Regions from separate parts of the Homo sapiens genome. Here regions 1, 2, 3, 4, 5 and 7 are each linked to region 6. Evidence: promoter capture Hi-C in human tissues and cell types (Jung and others, 2019). All regions are on one chromosome and are shown on one strand. The core of a region is centred on a gene start or on the middle of the fragment in contact, and the rest is flanking DNA. Distances in the headings are between cores, read along the strand shown.

What was found. The method cuts DNA at HindIII sites, captures the fragments that hold promoters and counts their contacts. A contact is called where the count stands out against the background at its distance.
Region 1: a fragment that was not itself captured here is called in contact with the fragment with the promoter of WDR4 in region 6 in 1 of the 25 tissues and cell types used here (spleen).
Region 2: a contact is called between the fragment with the promoter of UBASH3A here and the fragment with the promoter of WDR4 in region 6, in 1 of the 25 tissues and cell types used here (spleen).
Region 3: a fragment that was not itself captured here is called in contact with the fragment with the promoter of WDR4 in region 6 in 1 of the 25 tissues and cell types used here (spleen).
Region 4: a fragment that was not itself captured here is called in contact with the fragment with the promoter of WDR4 in region 6 in 1 of the 25 tissues and cell types used here (spleen).
Region 5: a fragment that was not itself captured here is called in contact with the fragment with the promoter of WDR4 in region 6 in 1 of the 25 tissues and cell types used here (heart left ventricle).
Region 7: a contact is called between a fragment that was not itself captured here and the fragment with the promoter of WDR4 in region 6, in 1 of the 25 tissues and cell types used here (spleen).

Annotation. Positions count from the first base shown.
Region 1 is chr21:42,420,918-42,423,617 of GRCh38, reverse strand. All of the region lies in intron 7 of UBASH3A (ubiquitin associated and SH3 domain containing A), which reads right to left. Among named protein-coding and RNA genes, the nearest start is that of UBASH3A, 18 kb to the right of the region's middle. RefSeq lists an enhancer at 172-441. The HindIII fragment of the contact is 5,669 bases long and covers 1-2,700 here.
Region 2 is chr21:42,402,465-42,405,164 of GRCh38, reverse strand. UBASH3A (ubiquitin associated and SH3 domain containing A) reads right to left here and starts at 1,263. Exons shown (of 15, transcript NM_018961.4): 1 at 1,107-1,263. The coding sequence starts at 1,219. The HindIII fragment of the contact is 3,374 bases long and covers 490-2,700 here.
Region 3 is chr21:42,489,903-42,492,602 of GRCh38, reverse strand. The region is part of intron 3 of RSPH1 (radial spoke head component 1); the gene reads left to right. Among named protein-coding and RNA genes, the nearest start is that of RSPH1, 5.0 kb to the left of the region's middle. RefSeq lists an enhancer at 1-243. The HindIII fragment of the contact is 4,264 bases long and covers 1-2,700 here.
Region 4 is chr21:42,447,785-42,450,484 of GRCh38, reverse strand. No RefSeq gene overlaps it. Among named protein-coding and RNA genes, the nearest start is that of UBASH3A, 45 kb to the right of the region's middle. The HindIII fragment of the contact is 3,611 bases long and covers 1-2,700 here.
Region 5 is chr21:42,527,112-42,529,811 of GRCh38, reverse strand. The region is part of intron 3 of SLC37A1 (solute carrier family 37 member 1); the gene reads right to left. It overlaps LOC107987299 (a long non-coding RNA gene), which reads left to right. Exons shown (of 2, transcript XR_007067878.1): 2 at 987-2,700. Among named protein-coding and RNA genes, the nearest start is that of SLC37A1, 15 kb to the right of the region's middle. The HindIII fragment of the contact is 7,112 bases long and covers 1-2,700 here.
Region 6 is chr21:42,878,123-42,880,822 of GRCh38, reverse strand. WDR4 (WDR4 tRNA N7-guanosine methyltransferase non-catalytic subunit) reads left to right here and starts at 1,284. Exons shown (of 11, transcript NM_018669.6): 1 at 1,284-1,416. The coding sequence starts at 1,328. LOC105372817 (a long non-coding RNA gene) reads right to left here and starts at 1,111. Exons shown (of 4, transcript XR_937765.3): 1 at 1,068-1,111. RefSeq lists enhancers at 1,032-1,381, 1,452-1,561, 1,592-1,641, 1,294-2,258, 2,259-2,700. The HindIII fragment of the contact is 11,595 bases long and covers 1-2,700 here.
Region 7 is chr21:42,508,280-42,510,979 of GRCh38, reverse strand. It overlaps a transcript of SLC37A1 not described here. Among named protein-coding and RNA genes, the nearest start is that of SLC37A1, 4.2 kb to the left of the region's middle. The HindIII fragment of the contact is 5,149 bases long and covers 1-2,700 here.

The DNA of each region.
Region 1 (2,700 bases), core at 71-2,570, 460 kb after region 6:
TGTGGTTCCTCTGTGACTGTGAAACTCTCCCATCCCGGGCAGAGAGCGAAGGACATGCTAAATGATGCGGGGCCACAGGGGAGCCCCAACCCTCCTGAAATTGAGATGGTTAGTTAGGGCATAGCCAGCATCTCCTCTCTATTCCTTAAACTGTTGATTGGATCAGGTGGTGAACTGAGCTTGCAAGAAAGCAAGAGCTTCCTTGATTGTACAACGTCACCTGGCCTCCTGGGCCCGAGTCTTCTCACCTCTCAAGCAGGGGAGCTGCCTTCGGTTATCTCTACAATCCCTTGTGGCACCCACATCCTGTGATTTTGATGTGGCCCCTGGACCCACGGACATGTCTATGTCAGCAAATTGTGTTTCTCCTGAACCGCTGGTCTGCACGCATCTGGGATGGCCATGACTGTTGGTTGAATGTGTGTCTGTTTTCTCACTGGATGTGGGAAAGCTCGGAGCTGGGAGCTCACAGCGCACGCCATGGTATGGACAAACCTCAGCCCTGGCTTTGTCTAGCTTTTCCACCTTTACTCTCCCTTTGACCCAGCTTTCTTACATTCTCTTCTTGAAATTTAAAATGGATTAATTTATGTTTTGAGTAAGTAATGCATTTATATGCTTCATACATTTAAACATTATGAAATGGTCGTGTTTGAAAAGACTCCCTCCCATTTCTGTTCCATTCTCCTGGCTCCCACTCCCAACACCCACCGGTAACCATGGTTAGAAGTTTCTAGACACTCTCCCTTCCAGGGAACCTTTAGGCATACACATGTATAGAAATACATATTGTGCACATGTATTTACAGACAGTTATGTGTTTCTCTCCCCTTCCCCCACAAGTATATCATGCCATACACATCGTTCTGCAACTTATTTTTTTCATTTATCAATAAATCTTGCATATTTTTTCAAATCAATATATAAAATTCTCCCTTTTAATTATTTTAAAGCTGCAAATATTTTATTGTATGGATGTGTCATAATTTAATTTATGGACTTATTTTTAAATTTTAATGATCTCTTCTATAGGCAGTTGAGGTCATAGTTGAAAGCCCAAGCGTGGGATTAGGTATAAGACTGGAATCCGGCTTCCTCTGCTCACTTGCTGTGTGAACACAGGCAAGTGAGTTGATCTCTTTGTGTCTCAGTTTCATCAACTATAAAATGGATCAATAAAAGTGCCTATCCAGGGGGTATTGGAGAAGTAAATCAGTTAGTAAGGGAAATGCATGGCACAGAGCCAGGCACAGGGGGTGATGTTAGTGTGCAAAGCTATTGGACATCTCTTAAGCTGCCTTAAAATAGATTTAAGTGGATTAGGAGTCAACACATCAATAAATAAAGACGTGTGACTACGGCTGCATTTTTCATCCCACATTTGCATTTTGTGGTCCTAAGTTCTTATTCATTAGGGTAAGAAGTTAAATGGCCTCAAGAGAAGATGATATGGAATGTCATGTATGCACAGCTGTGGGGCTTTGGCTGGAATCTGCTCTCCTTGAATGTCAAGTGGCTATTATGTTTAGTGGGGGAGCCCAGGGACATAGGTACTGTCCCTGGCTTGTTATACAAATCTCAGTGTATGAATAATTAGCAAAAAGAAATATAATACTTAAAGAAATCAGCCATAGTCACCAAATCTCCTTTTATAAATATTTCAGACAATACTTCCATTATTTTTACTACTATTTCTTGCAAATTCTAATCATTTCACCAAGAGCTTCTATCAGGTACTATTAAACCATCTTTTCTTTTCTTTTTTGGGGGTTTGGATAAAAATGACCAATATGCAATCATTTATTTCAGCTCTTCAAAATACGTTCTTTCTTAATTTACTTAAAATGCTAGTCTTATCCACACAGAGGCTTATCCATATAGCCTCTGACAATTTTTAAGCAGCTTTTAATGACTACTCAAATAAAACGTCACAATTTTCATAGTTTTGCCATGTGCATGAATCTCATTAGGAAGGGTACAGAAAATAATTCCCTGGATGTATAGATGCTGGAAATAGAAGTCCACAGCAAATGTCCAGCACAGATCTGAAAATCTATAGATTGAGTAGATGCTGATACATCTGTGTTCAACTTAATGATTTATTTATTTGTCAGGGTGGTGAGGGGAACCCTAGAGAAGCTGTGGAGCATTTTAGGAGAGAATTAAACAAATGAGTGAAATATAAAATGGTTTTAAGACCTCCTGCCTGGAGACAGAGGGATGGCCACGATGGTGTTTTTCCAGGCTCTCTTCCCCAGCCACACAGCTCTGAAGGTGCCAGGAAGCCCAGAACCACAACATAGGGTTTTTCTGTGTATTTCTGCCCTTCTCCTCCCACTCTCATCATTCAGTTGTTCCAACCATCAGTCTTGACACCTGCAAGAGCTCCACCCCAACAGGCACACCCATGAGGCTGAGCAGCTTTTCTCTTTTTTCACCATGTGTACTCTGACCTCTGCCTGCTCTCTCCACTCTCCTAACTGGAACCTGGGAGAAGAGAGTGAAAAAGCTCACAAGAGCCACCTTAACACTTTGCAATGGCTTTATGGTGTGGCAACTTGGCCAGACTGAACGACAGTTCCTAGACTTCCTTTTTAGCACATGTCTGATCAGGGTGGGCTACAAGAGGCATTCTCATGAGAGCTGGAGGATGGAAGGGAGGCAGTAGCCATCCTAAGCATCACACACAGCCTTCCTAGC
Region 2 (2,700 bases), core at 14-2,513, 480 kb after region 6:
TGATTTGGGGAGAAGAAATGGGTTTGTCTAGCTTCAGAGTTACTTCACCCAATTTGGCCAAGCTTTTGTTATAGTGTGGAAGGAAAGTTTAGCTCCTTCCCCAACCCAAAGTTACCTAAAGTGTGTTTCTGATACATTTTTCCATGTGAAAAAATGAATGGGTCAGATTTAAAGTGTGTTTCTGATACATTTTTCCATGTGAAAAAATGAATGGGTCAGATTTAAGGCACTGGTTTGCCATGAAAGCTGTAACCCAATGTTGGTGTCGTGGCCTCCCTCTCCGAGAGTGGTAACTCTGAAGGCTAAGCTCTTCCACATGCAGGCCTTTCCCTTGGGTAAGCAGGGTCGCGCTCACACTGTGTCTGAAGTTTCCTACCCATTTGTTTCGTTATCAGACACTCAAGGGATTGTCTCTGAGGACAAGTGACTTTCCCCGGGCAGCGTGGAAGCACAGCCCTGCTGACAGTTGGTCCCAGTGTTAGAGACTCAGCGGGCTTTGGGGCCTTTCACGTTAGAGTTTGAATATCTTGAAACGCCACTTTCAGAGTCACTGAGCTGCACACAAAGAGATTACAACCAGGCCCCAATCTCCTCCAAACCCCCAAAATGGGGCACCCAGAGTAATACATGGCTTCTGATTTTCACAAATTTCAGGGTCCCCCAGTCAGCCAGCCGAGCTGGTCTTTAAAAGGTCAAGAATATCAGGGGTATTCTTGTGCCTCCCTGGGCCACACATAAAATACGCTAACACTAATAATAGCTAATGAGCTAAAAAAAAAATCTCATAATATTTTAAGAAAGTTTACCAATTTGTGTTGGGCAGCCAACACAAATTGAACAGGGCAGCCTTAGGAGGCTGAGGTGGGATGATGGCTTAAGCCCAAAGCTGTCCTGGGCCTCATGTGGGTTGGACAAGCTTGGTCAAGATCACCTCATTTACGAGAAGCAGAAGAGGGCCCTGTGAAGAGGCAGTGTCTTACCCTGCAAGGTGCACTGCTTTGGCAGGAAGCCGTACCCTACACCCCTGCAGCTCCATGCCGGGGGCCGCAGCAGGGTCTGGCACCAGCCTTACTGGCTGGGCCCCGGGGTCTCTGGGCAGTACTCACGCGGTGTGCACCGGGAAGCCCATGGCCAGGAGGGGCTCCAGGAGCGAGGGGCTGCTGCGGCTCTTGAGCTTGTTGGAGACCTTGGCGTAGAGCTGCGTCTCCCCCGCTGCCATCTCTTCCTGCCCTTAGGCCAAGAAGCTCGCCTGCACACAGAAATGAGGAGATAAAGCAAGAGGGGGAGAGGCAAGGCTGAGGCTGTGAAGAAAAACCTCAAGCTCTTTTTGATCTTTCTGACAAAAGTTGATATCCTGTTTGCATGAGATATCAGTTTTCAGAATTCTGTTTGCAGGATGCTGGGTGCAGCGTCCACCAATCCTAACTGTTTCCACCACGGGAGTTTGAGGCTAAAGGTCCAACCGAGCCCCTGCACGGGATCAGCCTCTGTAGGGACTTGGCTAGTATTCGGGAGCAAGAATGCGTGAGAGCATGGGGGAAGGAAGCGGAGGAGAAGTCAGGGAATGAGTTCCCTCCTGGATCCTGCTGGCCCCCTGCCCTGACCCACCCTGGATCCCAGTCTCCTTGTCTGTGAACAAGACATTAAACCCCACTCTATCTATTGTCTCGGATTGCTGGAAAACTTACTGGTTCTTTCAGTCATTCATTGACTTGTTTTTTTATTTTAAAAACTTTAAAAGCTTTATATGTGTACAGAAAAGTTGATGAATCATATGTGTATAGCTCAAGGAATTTCCATAAATGAGCCCACACCCCTAATTCCCCCACGACCCAAAATCAAACAGGGCAACCAGGGGAATTTTGTACCTCCTCCACCCAAGGGGACATTTGGAAATGTCTGGAGACATTTTTGTTTCCAAAATGAGGCGGGGGTGGTGGTGGGTGGGGTGGACATCGTGGTACCGGCACTAGTGGGTAGAGGCCGGGAATGTCACAGTGCCCAGGACAGTCTCCCCAACAAAATTTCACTAGTGCCAAGGTGGAGATAGCCTGCTCTGGAACATTCTCAGAACCTCAGATGCACCTCTGCCCCCAGCTCAGCCTCCTCCAGTTATCTCCTCCCTCCCCCAGAAAGTAAACTGCTGTATCACTTGTATATGAATTGTGCCTGTGGTTGAGCCTTATGTAAATAGAACCATATAGCATATTCTCTATCATATCTCATTTCTTTTTCCTCAAATTATGCCTGTAAAATTTATCCACATTATTGCTTGTAGCCACAGTTAGTTCACTGTTATTGCTGTGTAGTATTTGATTAATAAATATACCAGCCAGGCGTGGTGGCTCACGCCTGTAATCCCAGCACTTTGGGACTTTGGGAGGCCAAGGGGGGGGTGGATCACCTGAGGTCAGGAGTTCGAGACCAGCCTGGCCAACATGTTGAAACCCTGTCTCTACTAAAAAATACAAAAATTAGTTGGGCATGGTGGTGCATGCCTGTAATCCCAGCTACTCAGGAGGGTGAAGCAGGAGAATCATTTGAACCCAGGAGGTGGAGGTTACAGTGAGCAAAGATTGCATCACTGCACTCCAGCCTGGGACAGAGTGAGACTCCAGCTCAAAAATAAATAAATAAAATAAATATAACATAATTCATTTATCCATTTCTCTGTTGATATGCATTCAGGAAGTTTTCGGT
Region 3 (2,700 bases), core at 108-2,607, 390 kb after region 6:
GATGCAGAAATAGGAAAGCCTTGTAATTAATTAACTCACTAATGAATCTGTAGTGGGAAATCTGTCCCTGTGGCCAGCATGTCCATGTCCTGGGAGCAGACAAAAGGGAGGCTCCTGAGTGGACGCAGGCCTCGCAGCTGGTGGACCCACGGCTTCAGCTGCTCTGCGGCATTCATCTTCCTGAACCTGTCTTTGCATTTTCCATTTCTGACCAACCCCGCCATCTGACGGATGTGTTATTTCTTCAGATCGAGTGTTTCCTTACATCAGGGCTTCCTGTCTGGGAGTCTTCCTGCCTTGTTAAACTGACTTTTCCTACCTGTGCCATAAGTCCTTACAGGCCAATGTTATGTTTGAGGAGGATTCTTTTTCCTTTATTTCCAAGAACCTCCCTGCCGCCCCTTGTGCCGTTGTCACCTGGTGTGACCACATTAGTGATATCCCAAACCTGGGCAGGGGGACCGGCAGGGAGCGTGTTGTGAGTCTTCAGAAAGTGTATATAAAATTCTGTGTTCTGGGCTTTTTGTTTTTTCCCTAGGAAGAAAGAAATTGTCTAGTTTTCTTCAGATTTCCAAAAAGATCTGTGACCCTAACCTTGGACTCTGGTGACAATAGGTGTGAGCTTGCATAGGTGACTTCACATCTCCTTGCCTCAGTTTCTCATCTGTAGCATGAAGATTCAATGGATAAACACAGGGAGACACCTGCAACCTTGCCTGATCCATAGTGAGCACTCAGTAACTGGGGCTAGGACTGTGATGTACCACTTGTGACAGCATCACTTCTTAGTGAGGAGGACATATTCTTACAAAGTGCGAGCTATAGTTGCTTGCTTTGCTCCTAGATAAAATAAGAACCAGTAGGTGGTTCTTATTTTAATAGATGTCAGTGATGATTCTGTCCAATTCTGAGACCAAGATGGAGGGTTTTAATACCATCCCTGTTAGATAGAAATTGTTTTGTTTTGTTTCATAAATCCCAGAAGGCTTGCTCTATAAGAAGCACCATCTGCTTTTTAAATCAACTTTAAACAATTTAATTTGGGGCTTAATTTAATTCTTTCCAAATCCTTATGCACCTAATCTCATTCTTGTCACTTTTGATTTTAGTGTAGATGTTGATACAATTTGAACAACACACACACACACGAAGATATTTAGGATAAGGGATTTAAGGAATTTTGAATATGAAGGTTAAAAATGGGTAACTGTTTCTCTGACACCAAATGCATGGATTTTCCATGCTATGTACTTCTCCAGTCTTCTGTGAACACCAACTGAGTTTCCAATGATGCAACTCCATTCTGACACCACCCAGAGTTAGCACAGACCCCACAGGTTAAGGGCTCAGTTTCCAAGACTGCCCCACTTCAGATGTCAACCTCAAGTTGTGGATCCGGAGGGTACCCACAGTTCTACCTGACTCGGCTACAAATTGGGGGTTCCTACAACACCCTACTCAGGTTTGATAATGTGCCATAGCGGCTCATAGGACTCAGGAAAGCACTTTACTCATGTTTACTGTAAAGGATATTATAAAGAATATGGATGAACAGCCAGATTCAGAGGTACAGAGGGCAAGGCCTGGAAGGTTCCCAAGCACAGGAGCTTCTGTCCTTGTGGAGGTGGAGTGCACCACCCTCCTGGCACATGATATGTTTATCACCCCAGAAGCTCAACAAATCTTGCTCAAGAGTTTTTACAGAGCTTAATCTCTGGCCCCTTCCTTCTTCTTTACCAAAAGTTGGTGGGTGGGGCTGGAGGTTCTATCCTTCTTATCACTTGGTCTTTCTGGTGTTCAGTCCCATCTTGAGGCCATCCTGGGCCTCATTTGCATAAGTTCAGGTGTGGTCAAAAGAGTCTCATTTTGAATAACAAAAACATTTCTATCAGTCAGGAAATGTCAAGGGTTTTAGGAGCTCTGTGCTGGGAACCATGAATAAAGACCAATATTTCTTATTATGCCACACTAACATATAAAGCTCTTCTGGTAACAGTTGGGATTTTTGATTCTCCAGATGGCTTTGTATCTTAAAGGGTGCAAGATTTAGCCACTACCCAGAGATTTCTTCTCTGACAAAAGCTTAAATAAGTGTCTTACTTCATGAAGGCAGCAATGGAAACTGAGGTCAGAAGTTATAATATTAATTATAACATAGTAAGCCAATACTCTTCCAATCACAAAATCTCAGTTAATGTATGGCTGAGTTATTCATAACAGTGTATCTTGGCTGGCTGCCATCACAATGGGCCAGAATGGTTTTGTGCAGGGCAGTGTGTTCAACGTCAGGACCCTGTGGCATAAAGTCCAGTACCCTACCTGTCTCCCAGATGGTCACACAAGTCCAATTAGGGAGTCCAGGAGCCAGCAGAGGCTATAGTGCTGCAGGAGAGGAGTGGGGAGACGGTCCTGGGTGGCGGGTGACTTGGATACAGGCAGGAAGGCCGAGGTTTTTAGGGGTAGTGGGGGATGAGATGGAGGGGAGGGTGGGTGCCAGATGTGGGGGAGGCCTAGACCCCATGTACTGATGCTGAGGGTTGGGGGTGTAGGGCCAACTGAGGACTCTGAGGTTAAGGGGGAGAAAGAGCATCCCTATTCCCTGCTGGCCTTGTTGCCTGTCAAACAGAACTCATCAAAACAAAGAAGTTTAAGAATGACATTGTGGAGAAAGAAGAATGACATGATAACTTGAACCTGGGT
Region 4 (2,700 bases), core at 58-2,557, 430 kb after region 6:
GCTGGAGTGCAGTGGCGCGATCTCGGCTTGCTCCAACCTCCGCCTCCCTGGTTCAAGCGATTCCCCTGCCTCAGCCTCCTGAGTAGCTGGAACTACAGGTATGCGCCACCACGCCTGGCTACGTTTTTGTATTGTAGTAGAGACGGGGTTTCACCATGTTGGCCAGGGTGGTGTCGATCTCCTGGCCTCGTGATCTGCCCGCCTTGGCCTCCCAAAGTGCCAGGATTACAGGCATGAGTCACCATGCCTGGCCCAGGCTTGTTTTTTTTTTCAAGCACACAGTGAGGAAGTCAACAAGAGAATGTGGGTGGGGCATGGGTTGGGATGGCGTTGGTGACAGGACGTCCACTTCCAGACGGTGTCAGCAGGGGTCAGACTTGGCTCACAAACACCAAAGCGACCCACCCAGGGAGAGGAAGGAAAAAAGAGTGTCTTTTGTTTTCTTTTTTTGGGATTTCCTATTGGTTCATAGAGTAGACAGTTTACACCCAATCATGATAATCCCACCAGGCATTTCCGTCTCTGCCCTTTTCCAGCCCAGCTCTGTCCGCAAGGCTCAGTCCATACAGCGAATGGTTCCTTCTGGAGGAACAGAACCACTGAACTGGGGTCCTCTGCCTTGGGGGTGGAATGAGGGTCTGACAGAACCAGAAGCATAGAATATCGAGAAAATGCTATTTCTTGCACACTAGATCTGGAGATCTGGAGATCTGAGTTTCAAACCCATCTCATTCTCCTTGCAAAACCTGTGAGCAGCCCAGCAGGATGAGAGGGGAATTACCTGTGTCTGGCTTTGCCCAGGGTGGAGGACCTGGAAGCTTCACCCCTGAGAAGGTGAATCCAGAGATTCATTACAGACCACCTGAACACGTGACTGTGATTTCAATGCCATACCTTGACTTGCAGCACTTTAATTCATCATCATGATTAGCGAGCGTGGCACTGTGGTATCCAGGAGGGACTTGGACCCAACCACACACTTGCCGAGGAGAAAGAACAACCACCCAGGTGCCCAGCGGTGGGGTGTATTTGTTGCAGGACGTACTGCCCAGCCACCTACATCCCAGTGAATCCATCTCTTCTCTAGTCGGTATCTGCTGGGATGCGTCTAGAACAATCTCCCTGAAGACGTCATTTCGGTATGGCCTGGACTCGAAGCAGGCCTGTGAGTGGGGTGCATGCTCTGCTCTCTGTGGCTGTGTCAACTTCAAACTTCTTTATGTTTGGACACAGAAAAACTACATCATTAGTGAAATAAAACAAGGGACAGACAGATGCGTCTTTTTCTCAGGAGGTCGTGTTTGATTGACTAAAACAGCAAGGAAACTTTTATTGGGTCTGGCCTCCTGTGCATTCTACACAATGTGGGCCGTTTTTGTCACAGCCCGGGGTGTTCACCATCTTTATTTCTACAAGAGCTCCCTTTGTGTTCTGCCCTCCACTTGCCTGGGTGCTCACAGGGGAGGCTGAGGGTGCAGCATGGGTCCTTCCTGCCCTGTCTCTGCATTCACACTATAAAAGGCACTCACAGAGCCACCACCACAGCCCCAAACTGCAATCATGAAATAACACCTGCACTGGATCAGGGGGCTAGAAGAGATGAAAGACCGATGGACTGTCACTACACCGTGCTGGGATCTCTGCCTGCAGCATGAGGCACCACATGTGTGGGCTGTGGGAGCAGGTGTGACCTGTGGGCTGGGGCATGAGACTCCCCACTGGGGAGACCCCATCCCCTGCTGGACCAGCTTCCTCAGCATCACCATCATGGACAGACTCCACTTTGCTCGTGGCCCTTCTTTTGGGGCCCCATTAAATCGGGGGAGCCTACTTCTCCCACTGGCAAAGTCCTCTTCTCTCCTCTACGTGATCAGAAACAAGAATAGGAGAAGCCAAAAAAGGCCTGCAAGGGGAGTGTCTCAAATCCCTATGTCCGAGGCCCTGTACGGGCAGCTCCGCTGTGCTTGGAAGGATTGGGGTATGTTATGGCAGGCTACAGGATAACCCCCAAAGATGTTCATGTCCTAATCCCCGGGACCTGGGAATATGCAACTTTATGTGGCAAAAGGGACTTTGCATGTGTGGTTAAGGCTCTTGAGATGAGAATTGATCCTGGGTTATTGGGTGGGCCCAGTGTCAACACAAGGGCCCTTGTAGGAGGGAGGCAGGAGAGTCAGAAGCAGAAGGCGATGTGGCTGTGAAGGCAGAGACTGAGAGAGCTTGGAGGCTGCTACGCCGCTGTACTTGAGGAGGGAGGATGCAGGTGGCCTCTAAAAGTGAGAAAAGGCAAGGATCCTCCCCTGGAGGCTCCAGAAGAAACATAGCCTGCTGAGAAAATGCCAACCTCCAGAACCGTAGGAGAGTCAGCGTGTGTGTGTGTGCATGTGAGCGTGTGTGTGCCTGTGTGTGCATGTGTGTTTGTGTGTGTGCATTGCATGTGTATGCCTTTGTGTGCATGTGTGCAAGTGTGTGCATGTGTTTGTGTGCTCATGTGTGCATGTATGCATGCACGCGTTTGTATGTGTATGTGTGTTTGCATGCTTGTGTACCTGCGTGTGTGTGCATGTGCGTGTGCATGTGTGTGCGCATGTGTATGTGCACGTGTTTGTGTGTGTGCATGCTCGTGTGTGCCTGTCTTTGTATGCATATGTGCATGTGTGTATGTGCCTGTGTGTGTGTGTGTGTGTGTGTGTGTGTAAA
Region 5 (2,700 bases), core at 46-2,545, 350 kb after region 6:
ATGCTGTGCCAGCCACTGAGCACAGTGTTGCCTTAATTTGCATATGGAATACCGGCAGACTCGAACACCATTCACATATTTCCTGGCGATCTGAATTCCGTGTCTGTAAACTGCTTGTTCATCCCCCTTGCCCGTTGTTTCTTTGGGTTTCCTAACTTCACACTCACTCCTACGATAAACATAATTTTCTTCTTGGATTTGTACTTTTTGTATTTTACATTCATGTCTTTAATCCATTTATTTTATTTTACTTTTTTGAGATGGAGTCTCACTCATGTCACCCAGGCTGGAGTGCGGTGGTGTGGTCTCGGCTCACTGCAACATTCGCCTCCCAGGTTCAAGCGATTCTCATGCGTCAGTCTCCCAAGTAGCTGGGATTACAGGTGCCCGCCACCATGCCCAGCTCACTTTTGTACATTTAGTAGAGATGGTCAGGCTGGTCTCGAACTGCTGACCTCAGGTAATCCACCTGCCTCGGCCTCCCAAAGTGCTGGGATTACAGGTGTGAGCCACAGTGCCCGGGCCATTTGTTTTTATAAAATAGGGATTCAACATTTATTTCTTCCTGACGAATAACCAGTTGTGCCGACACCATTTATTAAATTTATTAAATAAGCTCTGTCAAATATTCCATATTTTCTAATCTATTCTACTGACTTTTTTGTCTATTCTCATGTAATATCATAATTTGATTATGGTATTAAAATATGTTAATCTTTTGCATATTTTCATATCATAAAATGTTATCTTTACACTTTTCTTGATAATTCCTGGACATTCTTTCATACAAACTTTAAGATTATTTTATTCAATTAAAAAAAACCCTGCTAAGATTTTCACTGGAGTTGCATTTTATTTAAATATTAACACTGGGAGAATTGGAACTTTCCAAATAACAAGTTTCCCACCCATAGTACATACTTCCAGCTTTTCAGACTTTGTTTTCTGTCTGCCACTGAGGATTATTTTATTTCATTTTTTTTTAGATGGAGTTTCACTTTGTCGCCCAGGCTGGAGGGCAATGGTGCGCTCTCGGCTCACTGCAAACTTCGCCTCCCGGATTCAAGCTATTCTCCTGCCTCAGCCTCCCCAGTAGCTGGGATTACAGGCGCCTGTCACCATGCCTGGTTAATTTTTTTTGTATTTTTAGTATAGATAGGGTTTCACTATGTTGGCCAGTTTGGTCTTGAACTCCTGACCTCAGGTGATCCGCCCACCTCGGCCTCCCAAAGTGCTGGGATTACAGGCGTGAGCCACTGCGCCTAGCCAGTTTTCTCCTTTTAAGTCCTGTGTGTCCAGAGAGGGGTGGGCACACTCACATTCAAATCAATGCTGCCATCCCCCTGGCTCCAGGGACCCCTGCAGTTTAAGCTTCTCCGGGAAGCCTCTGCTTTCAGGTTTCTTTTCTGGCCCAGTCCAGGTGAAAAGAGCTCGCACTAAGATCTCTGCTGGGAGTCAGACTCACCTGTCTACCAGCTTGGGCAGACGCTTGCCTTGAGTCCTGAGGCTAGGCCACAGCTGGAGCAGCAGATAGAAGGGACAGGGTTGCACTTATAACACCACTATCCTCCCAGCCCTGGTTTTATCATCATCATCGAGAAAAATACAATTAATCAGCAGTGATCAAAGGTAAGTCTAAACATTCCATTTAACTAACTTAAATGTGACCTGGTGTGCCGTGTCATTCTATAAATGACATAACAGAATAAGACTCACTTTCTAATTCACAGCCTCTGGTTCAATTTCAAGTAAGCAAATACATTTTGCTTTGGTTTTGCTTACAATATTCTGGGAAATGCAGGCTATAAATAATCACTCAACTGTTTTGTGGGTCAACAGAATCACTACTACTTTCAGTTTCGTTGATGCCATTTATATCATGAGCTCAAGCACACGGGCGCTTCAGAAGGCACTATAAAGTTTAGTTTTGATGTGGTGTGATGTTCTGATCTATCTTGAAAGGTAAAGAAACCCACAGGATTCAGCGTCAAGCCAATCCATGCCCAGGCACATCGCAGCTGCTAGGTCAGGAAATCTGTGCGTTTAGGAGGCTCTGAGGGTGATGCTGGGACTGTACTCAGGTAATTAAACCCGGACAAACCCTGAGGCACAGAGAGGATGAGTAGGGGCCCTGGAGGCAGCCTGACCCACAGGGAATTCTCGAGTGTGTGGCAGCCCTGCCTGGGGAACGAAGACCCGAGCCTCAATTTCCTCACAGGGGCACTCGCAGGGTTGCTGTGAGGATCACAGGGGTAATGTATGTGGCAGTTTGTCATACCCCAGGGCTCTGTAAGCGGCAGTTATTTATATTGTTACTTATGACACTGAACTAAGAGCTGACCCTGACGCCGCCTCCTCAGAAGCCCTAAGTCTTGAGTGGCCTGGACACCACTACACACGAGAGTCAGGGGCGGGGGCTTTGAGATGGACCACCAGGAAAGCCGGGAGAGGGACCGGGACAGGGCTCCCACTTGCTCCTGGCTCACAGGGGCCCTCATAGTCATCAGGTGGACCCCAACAGCTGTGGCCTGACAAAGATTCCCCCAAAGGCCAGCCCACCTTACACGCTACATCTGCCCCAACAGCCCCCCAGCCCAACAGGTGGTGCCTTCATGGAGATGCCCATCCCTGCACGTAGCACTCAAGGCAGTTCTCCCACCTGTAAAGCTGTTTTTCTTCCCCTACAATCCACACCCAACC
Region 6 (2,700 bases), core at 35-2,534:
GTGGACAGAACAGTTTAGAGTGAAAAAAGGTCTGTGGGCTCACAATTTGCTAATGACAGGAAGGAGGTTGAGAAAGTTTCTCAAAGGGCACATTCTTCAACATGGCCAAGAAGGTGCTGGAAAAGGAGGGACACCCAAGAGGGCAGAGGCAAGAGCTGTGCTGAGATACAGCCTGGGGAGATACTCCCAGGAAGCAGAACTCGGGCCTGGTTAAGACTTCTTATTCTTGTAGGGCCTGAAAACATCTTCCAGTAGGATTTCAGAATTGCTTTGGACCAGTGATTACTGTGTCTCCTCCTCTTCTCATTTTCACATGCAAGTATTTATTGTGGTTATCTGGTCCCGGCTCACCATCATATATTGCGTGCACGGGAGAGAAAATTAATCTTTTTAGTTTGTAAGTCTCTGGATCAAGAGGAGCTGCACCGGACAAGCCAATCTAAAACAGACCGTGAGATCCTAGATTTTGTGCCTGATGCTGGGATTGTAAGAGGCTTTTGGGGATCTTGGGATGAACACTGGAAACTAACCATAGTTTGGGTTGAAAATATCACTACAGTTCGGAGATTTTAAGGCATCTGTGGCTTGTCTAAGTGCAAAGATTCAGTAGGCTTACTTCTAGCGACCTCAGACTTGACGCCACCCGAGACACCCTCACCCATGACCACATCTTGGACATTTTTTTTTTTTTTGAGAGAGAGTCTCGCTCTGTCGCCCTGGCTGGAGTGCAGCGGGGGCGATCTCGACTCACTGCAACCTCCGCCTCCCGGGTTCAGGCAATTCTTCTGTCTCAGCCTCCCAAGTAGTTGGGGCTACAGTCGCACGCCACCACGCCCAACAAATTTTTGTACTTTTAGTAGAAACGGGGTTTCACCATATTGGTCAGGCTGCTCTCGAACTGCTGACTTCATGTGAGCCACGGCCCCCGGTTCATTCACTTCTTGAAGGATCATTTACCAGGCATCTAGTAGCCATCATCAGGTCCTACGTCTCTCCAGCTACCGCGGAAAAAGATCCAGAACCAGCCCTACCCCGTCTAGAGGAAAGGATGAACATTAGGCAAGTACTTGGAATCGTGCGAAGTGCACTCCATCAGATCACCTTGGTGAGTGAACTGCCAAACCCGAAACACCGAAGGCCACCAGCCACAACCCGGAGGGCGGTCACAGCACCTTTCACGCATGCTCAAGGCAGGCTCGTCCTTGAGCATGCGCGGTACGTGGGGTATACGTCATCTCTCGGCGTCTGCGCCTGGCGTCACCGACCGGTGCGGACAGGAAGAGGCTCTGGGCTGGCACATGTGTATGGCGGTGAGGCGGGCGGGTACATGGCGGGCTCTGTGGGACTGGCGTTGTGCGGGCAGACGTTGGTGGTGCGGGGCGGCAGCCGATTCCTGGCCACCTCCATAGCAAGCAGGTGAGGGGGCCTTGGTCTTGGAACAGGGAGACCAGGCTGCGGGCGCGCGTCGGGTCCTGGCGACCCCGCTTCTCCCGCACCGCCTGGTCGCACCCACTCTGGGGTGACCCCGGGGAACTCCGCTCCAGCCCACGAGTCCTCCGCCGCAGTCTCGGCCTGGCCGCGTCTCTGCGCCTGGAGGGTCCGCTTTCGCCGTCCGCTCTCGGCGTCCGCTCCCCGGCTCCGGCGCGCTCCTTGCACTAGATGGCTGGTCTGCGGTGTTCTTGCCCGGTTAGCGCCGCCGGGTCGCTTCCGGTCTCCGCGGCGCCGGCGGGGACCGGGTAGGTAGAGCACGTGGGGCGACGCTGACCAGTCAGCAAGGCCCGGCCGAACACGCTCTGCAGAACTGGGAAGAAGCGGGTCTCGGGTCTCCCTGGTGAGAAGGGAGGGGCTTACTCACTGCGAGCTCACTGACCTCCAAGCGCGCTCCCTCTTTTTGCAGGGTTGTCTGTTCCCTCTTCCCGGCCTGCATCCACTCACCTGGCCTTAATTGCTCCTTAGGGCTCCAAGTCATCTCCGACACTTACCCAACCCAAGGGTGCACGTGGAGCTCGCAGTGCGCACCTCCCTAGTGGCCCTTCGCACGGCTCGGGTTTTGCTTTCCGTAATTTTATTCTCCTTCCTTAGTGTATCGCCAGTGCTAGGACGACGCAGGGGATTTTTAACTTAGTAAATGTTTGTTGATGGAACAGTCCTAACTCAGGACTCTCGGAGCAATTAGTAGTGCTGTCAGTTTCAGCCCCTCGTTTCCTTTCCCAGGTTATTTGTGATTTCATATTTGAAACGGACGACGTGTCTGTCAGATATACTGTATATTTTTTGTTCGTTTGGTTTTAGAAAGCCAATTCGATGTTAAGTTAGGTCTCACAAAAATTGTACTCAGAAACCCGTCACATATCCCAGATGATTTTGTTTTAGAGACTCACGGTCTAATATCTGCCAGAGTGAGCTGTGGATATATTAGACATGATTTGCTTACCTTCAGTCTTTGCATTTTGAGGAAATTCTAGTGGCTGGTGGAGTTTCTGACTTGGAAGACAAGTCCACGGTTCCATATGGAAAGTTTTTTGGTGCACTCGCTTTAAAGGCTATAAATATGTACAAGATACGTGCCAGGGGGTGAGGATGGGATAAACCGAAGTTTAGGTTCAGTATGGAAAATGGGTGATTCTTATGTTGGTAAGTGCCTGGGGTCATGGGAACACTTTCAGGTAGGTGAGATATGTTTCTAAATAGTAATGGCTC
Region 7 (2,700 bases), core at 184-2,683, 370 kb after region 6:
GTTATTCAGGTTCACTGTTTCCTTATTCATCTTCTGTCTGGATCATCTATTCATTGTTGAAAATGGGGTACTGAAGTACCCTGCTATTACTGTATTGCTATTTCTCTCTTGAGTTCCGTTAATATATATTTAGGTACTCTGATGTTGGGTGCATATACATTTATAATTGTTATATCCTCTTGATGAATTTATCTCTTTATCATGATATAGTGACTTTGTCTCTTATGAAGTTTTTGACTTAAAGTCTGTTTTGTCTGATATAAGTATCTTTTTTGCTCTCTATTTGGTAACCATTTGCATGGAATATCTTTTCCCATGCCTTTACTTTCAGCCTATGTGTATCCTTAAAGCTGAGTCTCCTGCAGGCAGCACCTAGATTTTTTTTTTTTAATATCCATTCAGCCACTTCTATCTTTTGATTGCAGAATTTAATCCATTTACATTAATTATTGATAAGGACTTACTACTGCCATTTAAAAAATTGCTTTCTGGCGGTTTGTAGTTCCTTTGTTGCTTTGTTACTCCCTTACTATCTTCCTTTCTAATGTGATGATTTTTGTAATGGTATGCTTTGATTCCTTTCTCTTTACATTTTGTATATCTGCTGCAGGTTTTTGTTTTGTGGTCACTATGATGCTTATATAATACATTTTAGGCCAGGCGCTATGGCTCTCGCCTGTAATCCCAGCACTTTGGGAGGCTGAGACGGGCAGATCATGCAGTCAGGAGATCGAGACTATCCTGGCCAACATGGTGAAACCCCATCTCTACTAAAATACAAAAAATTAGCTGGGCGTGGTAGTGTGTGCCTGTAGTCCCAGCTACTCAGGAGGCTGAGGCAGGGGAATTGCTTGAACCCAGGAGGCAGAGGTTGCAGTGAGCTGAGATCGCATCACTGCACTCCAGTAATAAAACATTAGCTGCCTACAGAAATCCTACACTTTAATTTTTCCCCACCTCAACTTGTATGCCATCAACTTAAGGAGCAGACATTCTCCCAGAGAAGGCCAAGGCAAAGCCAGTGACAGGCCTTGACTGACAGGGAACTGAGGTTTCCCTGAAGGGGGCTTTGAAGATACTGGGCTTCAGAGCTCAAGAAAATACCTCATGCTTAGAAAGCATTAGAGCATTAAACACTATTAGAGAGAAAGAAAAGGGAAAATCAGAACCTGATTACTTAACATGGAGAAAAGAAACTCATTTTATCTCCACTGATCAAAAAGCAAGAATTCTAATGGTATGGTGCACTGACTGGCGAGGAAGGGTGATTTATATTCAGTTACTAGTGTTGTTGATAAGAAATACAATGAAAAGCCTCTGATTATTAAGCATGCTCTGTATTCCAGGCATTGTGCTCGGCCTACGGATATAAAACTGACAAGAGTCCACACACTGAAGAACTATAACCCAATCCAGCAAACATAATTAGGTGTGAAGGAGTAGGCGTTCCCAGTCCTACAGGAGCCCAGTGAGGAGACTGGCCACGGCCCCCTCCCCATGCCACACTTCCAGTTGCAGTACTTTTGACTCGCTTCCCAGTCGATTCACGTATGAAAGCTCTGTTTCCTCCAAAGAATTCTCCTCCTTGATCGTGAAGAACGGGCAGCGGCCATGAACAACAATGACTGAGTCACCGTGGGTGGGACAGACCTGTCTGTCCTACAGCATCAGGGGAAGTGGCAAGGGATGTAAGAGAACTAGATGTTGTCTCTAAAACCAGAGGTCCATAGAAAAGCTTTAAAATTGGACATAAAAATCATAGTTTACTCATATTATTTAGAAATATAGGGAACTACCAGAAGAAATGGGTAAAAGAGTAGAAAATGGTAGGGGAATGAGACAGAGGAGTTGAAGGGATAAAGCCAGGCCCGACTGTTTGTTGTTATATACCTTTAGTATCATTTGATTTTAAAACTATTGGCATGATATTTAAAGAAATATCAACATAAAGACAGAAGGCTGTGCTTAATTTAGGTAATGGCATTTTAGTGGTAGAATTTTAGACACTGTGATACTTGAATTAGAGACATATTGGAGGAGAGGAGCTTTCAAGTGTCCTGAAATAATAAGGGGACAAACACCCATTTATAAGGGTGGTTCTCTTTAAACTACCTGTATAAAATAGGCAAATTTTCTTGCTTCTAAGACCCCTTGGCAGTGTTTCCCAGCAGAGTAACTTTCTTGCTTTTCTTCTATATGTGTAGCAAGGGAAATAGTAACTGAGAGAGTGCTCACGGGTATTTGGGGAGTAAACTGGATTCTAACTGAAGTAGGACTTGATAAAGGCTTGAATCAGATTCAGGGACTCACATTTCTTTCAGTGAAGCATTCCTCTGTAGCTGAGCTCCACTCTGGGGCTAACTTGTTGCCTGAGCCCATCTGTTGTAAATTCCTCTTGAGTTTATGCCTATAGGTAGAATGAGGTCAGGTATGTGGAAATAGGAAACTGACCCATCAACTAAGGAGTCATTCTTGCAGTTGAGCTAGTGCAAATACATGAGATAAGCAAGTTGGAAAATTTTTATGGGGTCTGCAAAAAGACATACTCTTAGGCCAGGCACGGTGGCTCATGCCTGTAATCCCAGCACTCTGGGAGGCTGAGGCAGGTGGATCACCTGAGGTCAGGAATTCGAGACCAGCTTGGCCAACATGGTGAAACCCTGTCTCTACTAAAAATACAAAAATTAGCCAGGCATGGTG